Regions from separate parts of the Homo sapiens genome. Here all the other regions are linked to region 1. The links are contacts of gene promoters, found by promoter capture Hi-C in blood cells and fetal thymus (Javierre and others, 2016). All regions are on one chromosome and are shown on one strand. Each heading gives the region's core, a stretch centred on a gene start or on the middle of the fragment in contact. The rest is flanking DNA. Distances are from core to core; before and after follow the strand shown.

Region 1 (4,685 bases), core at 125-2,624:
CCAGTTTTTTTCCTGGAGATGAAGTAAGGAGAGACACGACGGTGAGAGGCACCCTTCACAGGAAAGGTTGGTTCGATTTTCAGAGTCGACTGTCCAGTTAAATGCATCAGAAGTGTTAGCTTCTCCGGAGTTAAAGTCATTACTGTAGAGCCTGGTGTCATCATTTAATTGCATTAGGGAGTTCGTAGTTGAGCTCAAAGAAGTATTTTCTTCACAAAGAATATCCATGTCTAAGCCAGAACTTGTAGCAGATGAGGTGTAGAAGGACTAACAGGTTATAGTTTCTGCTCACCATTCACCTTGATGTACCCACACTCTGTAACACTGAGGCTGGTGTACATGCTGTTCTCCCGGGGCTGGATTTTTGTCTTCCATTATTACAATGATAGTTAAAGAACTGAACTGTGGTGGCTGTAAGTTTTCTTCATTCACAATTTTAGGAGAGTCCACTGTTTGGTTTTATTATTTTCTCACCAAACCGAGGACAAAAAAGCAGAATGAACTTTTAGCATAGAGGTTGCAGGGTTTTTTTTGAGCGCTCGGGAAGATAAATGTCCTGGACAAAGAAGAAAAGTTTTATAACTACTGGGACTCTTGTTTAACTATATCTCATTTTGTTGGTTATGCCGATGGTACTAGTTTAGCAACAGTATTATTAAAATAGCATGCAATCAGAAACAGTGGGGATGTACACATTCTACATTAAGAAAGTCAATTAAAAATACATCCAGTGTTAATCCCATAGTAATTGGATGTACTTTGGGTTACAGTTCTCAGCCATTCTTAAGCTGAATTGCCACAGCTGCTGTCAGGAATTTCAGCTCCTATAATGTTGCTTAGCTAATAAAAGGAAAACAAAAAAGTCTTAAGTAAAGATTAGCAGACAACTTTCCTCCCTGGAAATTCTCATTGAAATGATTACATGTTGGCCAAGCATGATTTCAAACCGGAAAGAAAATTACACAGCAATAAAATATAGCGGCATGAGAACTTACATTTGTCTTCAGGGTCCACACATGAGATACATTTGTTATTCTGTGACTCGCTGCATCTCTCACAGTAATTAAACTGGTGTAGAGTCCCCTCTTCTTGATCTTCCACCAGCATAATATGATAGTAATTTGGTTTCTGTTTTGCTGACTTCAAAAACTGCATGCAAGAGCTGAGCCAGCTCCCGCACTGCTAGGATCCTGTTGGCTTCCTCTGGCACGGCTCGGCTGGGTTCCTCCCTCCCTGTGCGGCTCGCCTCAGCAGGCACACATTTAGAAATCATTCACGAGCCCCTCAAAGTCGCACAAAAGAACTGCATGGGAAAGTAGGAAGAGCTGTCTGCACCAAGGGACTCCTGGTTTCCACGGGAATGGAGTAGCTCTCTGACTGTCTCGTTCATTTCATCAGACCTCCCTCTATGTGTATGTCATAAGCTGCAAGGTAGCAACAGCCAGGAGGGCGGACCAAACAGGCTTTTTCTTCTCCCTCTTTTTGCTACATATTAATATTGGGAAGTTTTCCTTTGCTTTTGAGAGAAACTGGAGAAATGGCCTTTTGTGCAGATTCCCATTAAGGTAGGTAAGTGGCACTGTGGTAATTTTTTAGGCTGAAGGGTGAAGAGAGAACATAAATAAGGCTAGAAAACAGTATGTCCTCGGAGTGCTGTGAGTGTCCGGCACTTCCATCCAAAGCCAACAGTGTTTGTGTCCAGAGTGGAATTACTGACATTGGCCACATAGGCTCAGGGTGGCTAGGCACGTCTGTGGTGATAACTCTGATAAACTATTAGCACTATTTTTATTTAATAGATACACCATTGAACTGGCTTATTTTCTTCAGCAGAAATATGCCACCCAGATATTATTCAAAACCTCACATGTGGTAGGAAATAAGTTGGTTTCGCAGTACCAATTTTTTTCCCCCACCAGTAATGACAACTTGCCTTACTTGTAAAGAAAGCCCTTTCCCAAGTAGGTTTCTAAAGGAGGCAGTTCGATCTCTCTCTTTTTGCAGGCATGAAAATATTTTCCTCAATAGTTGGGTTTTGCTACAGTTCTATCACCTTCTGTTCTTCACATTCTCCCTGGACAAATTCAACCACTCTCATGCCTTCAATATGTTTGTGGCCAAGTCTGTACCTTCATAGCTGATTATTTCTCTCAGTTCCAGACCTAAATCTCTAGCTGCCCATTGGCTCCTTCCATGGTAGCCTGGGAGACCTTGACCTCAGCATCTTCCCTCACTCCGCATCCCCCTGCCCGGCTCTCAGTGCTTGTTCCTACCCATTGGCTTGCATGATGGAATCACCACCTCTTCAGACAGCTGCTGTTATCCGCGACTCTTCCTTCATTCTCGCTGCCAGATCCCACTTCGTCTCCGGTGCTACCTCTGTATGCGTGTTTCTCACATGTCCTCTCCTGCAGCCTGCAGCTGGCACCCTGTGGTCGAGATCTAGCCACCTATTTCCTGGGTGGGTGCCTTAGTGCCCCCCTCACTGCCATGCCTGCCACCCTCCTACCCCTCCACGTTAAATATGCACGCTGGCGAGCAGGCAGCGGAGAACACAGACCTTAGAGTTCCTTGGTTTTGGATCCTAGCTCTATCACTCATAAACAGTAGAACCTCGCCTCATCTAGTTGCTCCCTTTAAAGCTCAGTCTTCTCACTTGTAAAATGGGATAATACCTTCCTCATAAGATTGTAGTGAAGCTAAACTGAGATAATGTGTGTAAGTATTTGGCCCATGTCTGGCTTATAGGAGGTTCTCAAGTAATGTCAGCCACTTTCATTCCTATTGATATTCTTACTGATATTAATGACACAATTGGCATCACTCCCATGCCTACACTCCTGCAGTCCCTTCCTTGTGGGGCACATAACACTTTTCTTCATCTACCTGTACCCTGCTTGCCCCACTTTGCAGGCCTGGACTCTGGTTACTCTCCCAGTCAGCCTGTATGCAGACTGAACTTACATGTTTCTGACCATTTTTATGTCTCTGTACTTGTACTTCCCTGTGCCCGGAGTGCTCTTACCATTCCTTTTTTGTGTGTGTCCATCTGGCAAATTCGTGCTTAGTTCCAGAGCAGCTCTGGATCCCAGGCCTACCACTCACCACATCTGTAAGCGTGATTAAGCTACCTAATCTCTGTGTTTTAGTCTCCTCATCCGCAAGTAGGGAACATTAATAATAAAAAGACCTCAGGATTGACGTGAAAGCCAAATAAATTTACATATTTGCCTGGCACATTTTAAGCACTCAATAAAGGTTAGTTGCTATTATTCTTACTAAGTTTACTGTTCCTAAGCTTTCTGTAGCCCTCCTTCCCAGTGGAGGCAAAGACTATAGCACCTTCTGCAGCCTTCTATTTTTAACACATCATGTCTCATGTAAGCCTCATAAAGGCAGGAACTGTGTCTATCTTGTTAACAGCTGGGCGCATAGTGCTTAAGTATGTTTGTTGAATGAATGCATGACATCTGTGTAAATGTCTGTCTTCTCTATTAGATGTTGAACTTCATTTCCATACCCTTAATATAGATGTAATCTATATTACATCTATCTTATACTATTATATTATCCACCCAGATGCAATTCATAAACCTCACATGTGGTATCTAAGCATGGTATCTCATAATGGAAGGTCCTCAACAGATGTGTTCTGACTGAATTGTTATTAGCATAAATTAAGATGAATTGATTATTAAAAAGGAGAACCAGGGAGAAACTTAGAACCTCTCATTTTTTCTTGTTACTTTGTTTATTGGGATACCAATTTAATTTTATTAAAGATAGCAGAGGGAAATGTAATATAAAAAATACTCCAGTGTCAGGAAGTTATTCAAAAGTTTTCTGAGGTTAAATTTTATAGATGTTCTTGTTATAGCTCTTAGAGAATTCTGATGATCTCAGTCCATTATTTCTCATGAAGAACAGCTAGGCTTCTAGTCATGCCAAAACTAATCAGTGTTTCTTATTATGTGGTTTACACTGGGAAATATTTTTTTGGCTACCATCTAAGATTATTTCTAGTTTTTATTGCAATTTTATGAATACTTGTTATGGACAAAGCAGTAGGGGCATAATCTAGGCTCCTGATTCTTAAACAGAGCTTCTAGGTTAATAGCATGAGGGTTAGATTAGGTAGGAATAGTTTCTTGCTGGGCAGATGCCCCTGTGAGTTTGGTGAGACGAGTGTGTGTTGGCTGCTGTAGTGCGCACCGTGATGCCTCGCCCAGCTTCTGCTTCAGGGCTGAGACTCGGGCTCCCTGCTGCTGGAAGGATTGGTGGCTGGCTCTCCACTCTTTCTGTGAACACTCCCCTCAGCCAAGGAAGCCAGCTTGCCAGTGGTCATGCCCCTTCTCTGTGGCAGCCAGCATGCAAAGACTGGTCCATTGTGAGGATATAAAGGGCTGGCCCTCTTGCCTGATGGCTGAAGAACTTTGGTTCCAGTGCTTCTATGGGATTCACTGAGGCCTTTGTTGTGTCAAATCCAAGTTAAATATCTCCCCTTGTCCAGTCTGGCTTCTCTTGCTCCCCTGCCGGTGTTGATCTGAGAGCTCGCCCCACACAAATCTCTTGCACACACATCAGTCACAGAGTCAGCTTCCTGGGGAGCTCAACCTATGACCTATCATCTTTAGCTGTGTATTAATGCCTTGAATAACATCTCTGGGTGAGTTGGATGTCTTACA
Region 2 (4,537 bases), core at 526-3,025, 1.1 Mb after region 1:
GAGATCGAGACCGTCCTGGCTAACACGGTGAAACCCCGTCTTTACTAAAAATACAAAAAATTAGCCGGACGTGGTGGCAGGCGCCTGCAGTCCCAGCTACTAGGGAGGCTGAGGCAGGAGAATGGCATGAACCCGGGAGGCGGAGCTTGCAGTGAGCCAAGATCGCGCCACTGCACTCCAGCCTGGGCGACAGAGCAAGACTCCGTCTCAAGGAAAAAAAAAAAAAAATGTGGAAAACAAATTGCTAAATTAAATGTGTGACCTTGAACGAGTTTCTTAAGACTCCGTACTTCTATGTCCTCATCTACAAAAGCAAAGGGTTGGACTAAGGTCCTTCCAAACTCTAGAGCTGCATTTCTTAATACCAGGGTAGAAGACAGCAACTGTTATAAAGAAAATAATATTGGAAATTTCCATAAGGAGAAATGAAGGCTTTTAAATGAACTTCCAAAAAGATAAAGATTTTGACTAGAATGAAAACGTATTTGTCACTAAATTCCCCATTTTCTAAAAACTAAATAGCACTCTTCTAAGATTCATAAGAAGGAAGTTCAAGGTCAAAAAGTCACTTCTATCGGGAAGCAAACTCACAGAACTCACTACCCCTAGGCTGAAAGTATGAACAACTTCAATAAAAATGAAAAAAAAAAAAAAAGGTAGGGGCGGGAGGGCCCTAAATCAATTCATACTATGACATGTATGAAGAGTTACTTCAGAAAAAAACCCAAAACTCTGGAATTGACTTAGGACACCAATAATGCCCTTCCACAGTTTTTTGTTGTCAAAGTTGGAAGGAAGATGTTTGTTTTCGAAGTTGTGGAGCCAACTCAAGTACACGGCTTTAGAACCAGACACCTCTGGGATTAAATCTCAGCTTTGATCTTACCTCCTATATGACCTAGTCCAAATTACTTGTTCTCTTAACCATAATATGTTCAACAATGATGCAGGTGTTGAATGACTTCCTCACAGTTGCTGAAAAACCTGAGAAACTACACGTAAAGCGCTTAGCACATTACCTGGCACACATCAAATATTCAAAACAAGGCCAGTAACTATTATGCTATAGCCTATCCAGAAATAAGGCTATACAAAAGATTATTTTCTTACCTCTCCAACTGGTTAGGTAGAAAACATAATCTTATTACTGCTATTAACAAGTAGAACAGTATACAACTACTTGGAGGAGAGGGGAAACTTCCCTACCTTGCCCCACAAAAGGCAAGTCAGTAAGCACCGCTGGTCCTCTGACATTCCCACCTATGACAGCTCCCAAGAAACACAAAAGTACTTTTGAAGGGCATTCCCCCCTGCCCAAAAAGGGGCGGCGCAAGTCTCAGCCCACCGTGCCAGACGCCGGAATGGCAGCAGAAAATGTCCTGACCCCCTCACCTCCACTCAGAGCCCACCTGCTCCCGCCCATCTCTTAGAAACTGCAGGAGCAGCCACGGCCGGGCCGCCGGGGATCCTCGCGGACTAAGGGCTGGGTCAGAGCCGCGCAAACATGGGCTCGCTCGTAGTCCTGGCGAGCAGCACTCCCAGGCAAGTCGCCCGAGGGCCTTGCAGGGCACCCAGAAAATGTCACTGCCGGCGAAGTGACCCCGAGCCGGGCCACGGGACCCCTCACACCTCACCCTTTCTCCTGCCGACCCTCGAGACGACAGCGGACTGGAAGGCATTACCTGAGCAGCAGCCCGCTGGGCCGTCCGAGGCCGGTGGTTCCGAAGGGTGGCCACGGCCACTAGCCTGCCGTAGAACATGGAGGCCGCCATTTCTGAGTCGGACCCCGTCCCCTCGGCGCCGCGCGCAGGCGCACAGGCGACAGGCGGCCCAAGGCGCAGCCTCTCTGCAGCGCTCACCTACGCCCCGCCTCGCGCCACCCGTTGGGGGCGGGGCCTCGGGTTAACACTGCAGCCGCTAGACCAGCTCCCTGGCGGGCGCGGAGCAAGCTTTGACCTTTGGAACTGGGCACCGCAGCCCCAATATCTGCCCTGCGGTCAGAGCAACCTGAACACTTCCTAGTGAATTGCAATGTAAAGGTGACCAGCGCCGCCACTTGGGTGATCTTAACTTCTCTCAGCCTCAGTTGCCTCATCTGTAAAATGTGTTTCATTCAAGAAATGATTACCCAGTGTCTACTTCGTGCTAAACAGCCTTGAGCCCTTGGCCTACAGCAATGAATAAAACCATTTGTGATGCTCAAAGAGAAGATGGTCGGTGTAACGCGCTTGTGATGCTCAAAGAGAAGATGGTCGGTGTCATGCGCTTCTGATGCTCAAAGAGATCGGTGTCACGCGCATCCGTGTGAAGACACCGCCAAACAGGGTGTGAGCAATAAGGCTGTTTATTTTAACTGGGTGCAGGCGGGCTGAGTCCGAAAAGAGAGTCAGCAAAGGGAGATAGGGGTGGGGCTGTTTTATAGGATTTGGATGGGTAGCGGAAAATTACAAAGGGGGTTTTTCTCTTACGGGCAGGGGCGGGGGTCACAAGGTGCTCAGTGGGGGAGGTTCTGAGCCAGGAGAAGGAATTTCACAAGGTTAATCACTCAGTTAAGGTGGGGCAGGAACAAATCACAATGGTGGAATGTCATCAGTTAAGGCAGGAACCGGCCAATTTCCCTTCTTTTGTGATTCTTCACTTGCTTCAGGCCATCTGGATGTACACGTGCAGGCTTGGGCTCAGAGGCCTGACAGTCGGCCACTAGTTACCAAAGCTGGTGGCAGGCTGGAGTCTCCAGGGAAGCTATTGATTGATTGATTGACTGATTGACAGGGTCTTGGTCTGTCACCCAGGCTGGAGTGCAGTGACGCGATCACAGCTCACTGCAGCCTCAACCTCCCATGCTCAAGGGATCCTCCCACCTCAGCCTCTGGAGTAGTTTGGGACCACAGATGTGTGTCACCAGGCTTGGTTGATTTTTTTATTTTATTTTTTTAGGGACAGAATCTCTCTATGTTGCCCAGGCTGGTCTCCAACTCGTGGGTTCAAGCGATCCTCCTGCCTCAGTCTCCCAAAGTGCTGGGATGACAGGTGTGGGCAACCACACCCAGCCAAGGATCTGGTTTTTGAAAAGATAAATAAATTTAACAAACCTCCAGCAAGACTGCAAAGAAAAAAGAAAAAGAGAAGACACAAATTACCAATGTGAGGAACATACCAGGGAATATAATTACAGAACCTTCAGACACCAAAAAGGAATGCCATAAATAACACCACATAACATAAATTTGACAACTTTGACAAGATGAGCGAATTCTTCAGAAGGCACAAATTACTACAAATAACCTAATATGAAAAGGTAATTTAAATAGTCCTCTAACTAGAGAAAATTGTAATTGTAATTTTTAAACTAAAAAAAAAAAAAACCTGAGATCTCCAGGCCCAAAAGCTTTCACTGATGAATTCTATAAAATGTTTACACAAGAATTAACACCAATTCCATACAGCCTCTTCCAGAAGATAGAAGAGGAAGGAACAGTTGCCAATGTACTGTATGAAGTTAGAATCACCCCACTACCAAAGCCAGCAAAAGACCGTACAAAAAGAAAAAAATACCAACACTTCTCATGAATATTGATGGAAAAATCCATAGCAAAATATTAGCAAATATAATTCAGAAATATATAAAAAGAATTGTACAATATGACCAAGTGGGATATATTCCAGAGATGTAAGTTTGTTTTAATATTTGAAAATATGTGTAATGCACTATATTAAGTTAGAAAAATCACATGATAATTTCGATCAAAACAAAAAAAGTAGCTGGGCACAATGGTTCATGCCTGTAATCCAAACACTTTGGGAGGCCGAGGTGGGAGGATTGCTTGAACCCAGGAGTTTGAGACCAAACTGGTTGGGCCACATAGCAAGACTTCATTTCTATAAATAATTTTAAAATTAGCCAGTCATGGTGGTGTACACCTGTGGTCCCAGCTACTCCAGAGACTGAGATGGGGGGGAAATCACTTGAGCCCAGGAGGTCCAGGCTGCAGTGAACCGTGATCGTGCCCCTGCACTCCAGCCTGAGTGACATAATGAGACCCCCATTACAAAAAAAAAAAAAAAACAGGCCAGGCATGGTAGCTCACGCCTGTAATCCCAGCACTTTGCGAGGCCGAGGCAGACAGATCATCTGAGGTCAGAAGTTTGAGACTAGCCTGACCAACACAGAGAAACCCCGTCTCTACTAAAAATACACAATTAGCTGGGTGTGGTGGCATGTGCCTGTAATTCCAGCTATTCAGGAGGCTGAGGCAGGAGAATCATTTGAACCAGGGAGGCAGAGGTTGCAGTGAGCCGAGATCGTGCCATTGCACTCCAGCCTGGGCAACAGGAGTGAAACTCCATCTCAAAAAAAAAAAAAACAAAAAAAGCATCTTACAAATTCCAACATTCATTCATGATTAAAAACTCAGATAAACAGGAATAGAGGGGAACTTCCTCATCTTGATAAACCGGATTACAAAAAACTTACGGCTAATATACTTAATGGTGAGAGAAGACTGAATGCTCTTCTCATAAGACTGGGAGCAAGGCA
Region 3 (4,276 bases), core at 26-2,525, 1.9 Mb after region 1:
TCTGCTGTTATTAGCAGTATCCACCTAACCCAGCACCTGAGTACAACTTTTAGAAATGAGGTTAAATAATCTGATTCCGGAGAGACAAATCGTTTAGGGTCAATAGTGACAGATAGGACCTATTTTAATCTGATTCCAGAGAGACAAATTGTTTAGGATCAATAGTGACAGATAGGACCTATTTCCAGCCAGAAACCACAATTGTGATTTCCTCAGTACTCCCTTGAAAAAGTAACAAAGAGCAAACATGAACTAAGCATTTTCCAGACAGATTTGTAGAGCTGGGGTTATTTACAGCGTTCCAAGTTCCAGTCTGCAATGAACATTAATAATTCTTGATTTCTTTAGTGAGTCCAGTGCCCTTCTTTAGTGAGTCCAATGTCCATTTGAACCACAGGAGATGTCAGCCACAGGAGAGACTGTAAGAATGTCGGGCCAAATATTTTAGAGATGAAAGATTAATGCTCACCAGTGTTAGAACACTCCCAGCTCTTTCTATCTTTGCTTTTCCACCTGCTCTTCTTCCCTGCCTGGTGAACTCATCCTCATCCTTCAAGGTCCAGCTCAAGAGATACTTCTGTGAAGGTTCCTCTGACTTCTCATATCGGGAGATGAGAGCCCTGGACATAATGTTATTGTGTTTATTGTTCTCTTGAGGTCACTTAGCCATGGCCTAGCTTTCTCACTAGACTAAAAACCCCTTAAGGTGAGACTGTCTCTCTTATTTGTCCCTCTCTCACAGCCTATAGAAGTTCCTGATGACACATAGCTTGTACTCAATCAATAGATGGTGAATTCAGAAGCCTATGTAAATAACACTGGGGGGATAGACAGGAATCAGCATTTCTTAAGGATGCCCCATGTGTCCAGCACTTGCACATATTATCTCATTAAATCTTCTCAACAACCTTCCAAGATAAATATAAATATGATTATTGGGACTCAGAAGTAGTAAGGATCTTAATAAGACCCTTAGGTAATAAGAGACAGGGCTGAAAGTCAAACCTGGATCTCTTTGACTCCCAATCACATTCTCTCTCCACTCCACGGTAAGCTGAGTTACCTTAAAAGCTTCCTGTAAAAAAGAACAATATATTCATTTGCCTTAAATAGAACATGCTAACGAGCACAAATCACTTCATTTGGAAATTGCCATTCTGAAGATATTAACTTAATTTTAGTCTCTCATATGCAAAACTTTTGAAGAGTGTAAGTATCCTTAAGTGCACAGGGAAGTGGTTCTTTCAGGAAAAATTTGAGTATGGCCCATGCACATATTCAGTGTCATCATTAAATTAAAAGTATTAAGTGGTTTCATTACATAGGAATCCATGTCATGGTAAGTTTCTTTCAGAGGACCAGTTTAGAAATGCAGCCCAGGATGTGTCAGTACCTCTCAAAAGGAGAAACATCCTACAGTAATAATAACAAAGTGATCTCAACCTAGCAAAGATTATAATAGAATAGCCCCATTTATAGATAAGCTTAGATCTTAGAGAAGGAAGGTGAGGAGGAGTAGGAGTCACCTTTCATCAGCACTTACTATATGCCAGGGACTGTGCTAAGTATTACTGGCCTCAGCTCGATTCCCTGCAAGAACTCCATGACATAGACACTTATCCTCATTTTGAGTATAAAGAAGCAGGGGTTTAGGGAGGTTAAATGACTTCTCTTAGTCCCACTGCTTGTAAATGACTCTTGCAGTCTTAGACTGACACCAAAATTTAAGCTTCTCTACTAACACCAAAAGACAGTAAAAATAGTGGGGGTGTTAACTGTGACAGCCCTTTTAAAATACATTGTCAGCATCTATGAAAATTTAAATGTGCATACCCTACAACTCAAAAATTCTACTTCTTAGTGTTAGCTCAAGAAAAATTCTTGCACATGTGTACAAAATTGTTTGTGATAGCAGAAAACTGGAAACAATTTTTAGGTTTATGTCCTTCCAAAGGAAAATCACTTTAAAAAGTGATACTGTATCCATGCTATGGAATAATGCATACCTGTCAAGTTCTCAAAGACATAATGTTGCTGTAGAGGTAGCAGATGGTAGTATGATACAATAAAATACTACACAAAATCCACATCTTAAAACATTAGCATATATGCATATATGTATATTTGCAAAATTGATGGAAAGAGAATGGAAGGATACAGACCAATCTAATAGCAGTGGTTACCTTCATTGTTGGGGTAGGAAATGGACCAGGATTGCAGGGAGTGGGCAAAGGGAATTTGAGCCTTATTTGTAATGCAAAATGAATGCTTCCTTCCTCCTTTTCTCCCTCTCTTCTTCCTGGTTCAGTTTCAAACCTCATTCTACCATGAGCATATCTGATTGGCAGACTCTAACCCATATCCAGAAGCCTAACTACAAGGAAGTCTGGAAATGTCAGTTTTAGCTTTCTACCCTCCCCTTGCTATCATAGAAAAGGGTTGGGCTGCATGCTGAGCTCTCAATACACACAATAATAATTCAGGCAATAAATACTTTGGCCAAATTTCCAAATAAAATCAGGTTAAAGGAAAATGATAGAATTGTGAATCACATGGATTTTTATATAACTTCTTTCTCTATGAAGTCAACTATAATCTGAAACTGCAATGGTATAAGCACACAAGAGAAAGAAGCCATGCAAAAGATCTTGAACTTTTATGAACTCTGACATTTCTGTTATCCTCCCCAGGGTGCTACTCCTCTATCTAACCTGTTGAAAGACAGCCCCATGAAAGAAGCATCTATTTGGTGCTATTATAAGTGAATTGTTTTCATAATTCATTTAAGTTATTTAAAAATGTATCTAGAAATGCAACTGATTTTTGTGCATCAGCTTTGTATCCTGCCACTTTCTTGAAATCGTTTATTAGCCCTAGCAGTTTTTTGGTGGAATCTTTTGGGATTTCTACAGATAAAATTATATCATCTGTGAATAGATCATGTGACTTCTTCCTTCCAATTTGTATGCCTTCAGTTTAATTTAATTTTTGTCTAATTGCTCTGACTAGAACTCCCAGTATTATGTTGAATAGTAATGGTGAGAGTGGGTATCCTTGTCTTATTCTTTATCTTAGATGAAAAGCCTTCAGTCTTTTCCTATTGAGTATGATGGTCTACAGCCATACCACCCTGAACATGCCTGACCTCATCTGATCTCAGAAGCTAAGAAAGGTCGGGCCTGGTTAGTACTTGGATGGGAGTATAATGTTAGCTGTGGGCTTTTCATATATGGATTTTATTATATTGTTTATTATATATATTGAAGGTAGTTTTCTTCTCTTCCTAGTTTGTTCAGTGTTATTATCATAAAAGGGCATTGAATTTTGTCAAATGCTTTTTCTGAATTGATTGAGATGATAATGTGATTTTGTCCTTCAATTTGTTAATGTGGTATATTTCATTGATTGATTTTTATATGGTGAACCATCCTTGCATTCCAGGTATAAGTGCCACTTAGTCATGGTGCATGACCCTTTTAATGTGCTGTTGAATTCAGTTTACCGGTATTTCTTTGAGGATTTTTGCACTGATATTCATCAAGAATGTTAGTCTGTAATTTTCTTTTCTTGTTTTTAATATCTTTGTCCACGGTGTCAGAGTAATATTAGCCTAATATAATGAGTTTGGAAGTGTTACCTCCTCTTCAATTCTTTAGAAGAGTTTGAGAAGGATTGATAAGTTTTAAAGAATGTATGGTAGAATTCTTCAGTGAAGCCACTAGTCCTGGGTTTGTTTGTTTGTTTGGAGGTTTGGAGGTTTTTGACTAGTGCTTCAATCTCCTTGCTAGTTATAAGCCTGTCCAGATATTTTATTTCTTCAGGATTCAGTCTTGGTAGGTTGTGTCTAGCAATTTATCCATTTCTGCTAGGTTATACAACTTATTGGGTGTAATTGTTCATAGTAGTCTTTTGTAATCCTTTTAACTTTTGCAATATCAGTTGTAATGCCTTCTCTTTCATTTCTAGTTGTATCTATTTGAGTCTTTTCTCTTAGTCAACTAATCATTTGTCAATTTTGTTGATCTTAAAAAAACTCAGTTTCATTGGTTTCTCTATTGTTTTGCTATTCTCTATCTCATTTATCTCTACTGTAATCTTATTATCTCCTTTCTTCTAACTTAGGTTTAGTTTGTTCTTTTTCTAGTTTCATGAGGTGGAAGTTTAGGTTATTAACTTGAACTCTTTTTTTTAATGTAAACATTTATCACTATAAACTCCCTTCTTAGTAGAGCTTTTGCTGCATCCTGTAAGTTTTGGCATGTTGTATTTTCATTTT

The links. The method cuts DNA at HindIII sites, captures the fragments that hold promoters and counts their contacts. A CHiCAGO score of 5 or more calls a contact.
Region 2: a contact is called between the fragment with the promoter of SUCLA2 here and the fragment with the promoter of HTR2A in region 1, in 1 of 17 cell types (megakaryocytes). The highest score is 7.1, in megakaryocytes.
Region 3: a fragment that was not itself captured here is called in contact with the fragment with the promoter of HTR2A in region 1 in 1 of 17 cell types (fetal thymus); the score reaches 6.2 in fetal thymus.

Annotation. Positions count from the first base shown.
Region 1 is chr13:46,895,679-46,900,363 of GRCh38, forward strand. It overlaps HTR2A (5-hydroxytryptamine receptor 2A), which reads right to left and starts at 1,375. Exons shown (of 4, transcript NM_000621.5): 1 at 996-1,375; 2 at 1-556. The coding sequence starts at 228. The HindIII fragment of the contact is 5,377 bases long and covers 1-3,296 here.
Region 2 is chr13:47,999,498-48,004,034 of GRCh38, forward strand. It overlaps SUCLA2 (succinate-CoA ligase ADP-forming subunit beta), which reads right to left and starts at 1,776. Exons shown (of 11, transcript NM_003850.3): 1 at 1,683-1,776. The coding sequence starts at 1,772. It overlaps SUCLA2-AS1 (SUCLA2 antisense RNA 1), which reads left to right and starts at 1,908. Exons shown (of 2, transcript NR_189308.1): 1 at 1,908-2,325; 2 at 2,938-3,194. RefSeq lists enhancers at 1,411-1,460, 1,481-1,530, 1,551-1,740, 2,117-3,316, 3,988-4,537 and a silencer at 1,861-1,970. The HindIII fragment of the contact is 2,000 bases long and covers 1-1,947 here.
Region 3 is chr13:48,761,780-48,766,055 of GRCh38, forward strand. No RefSeq gene overlaps it. Among named protein-coding and RNA genes, the nearest start is that of CYSLTR2, 110 kb to the left of the region's middle. The HindIII fragment of the contact is 413 bases long and covers 1,070-1,482 here.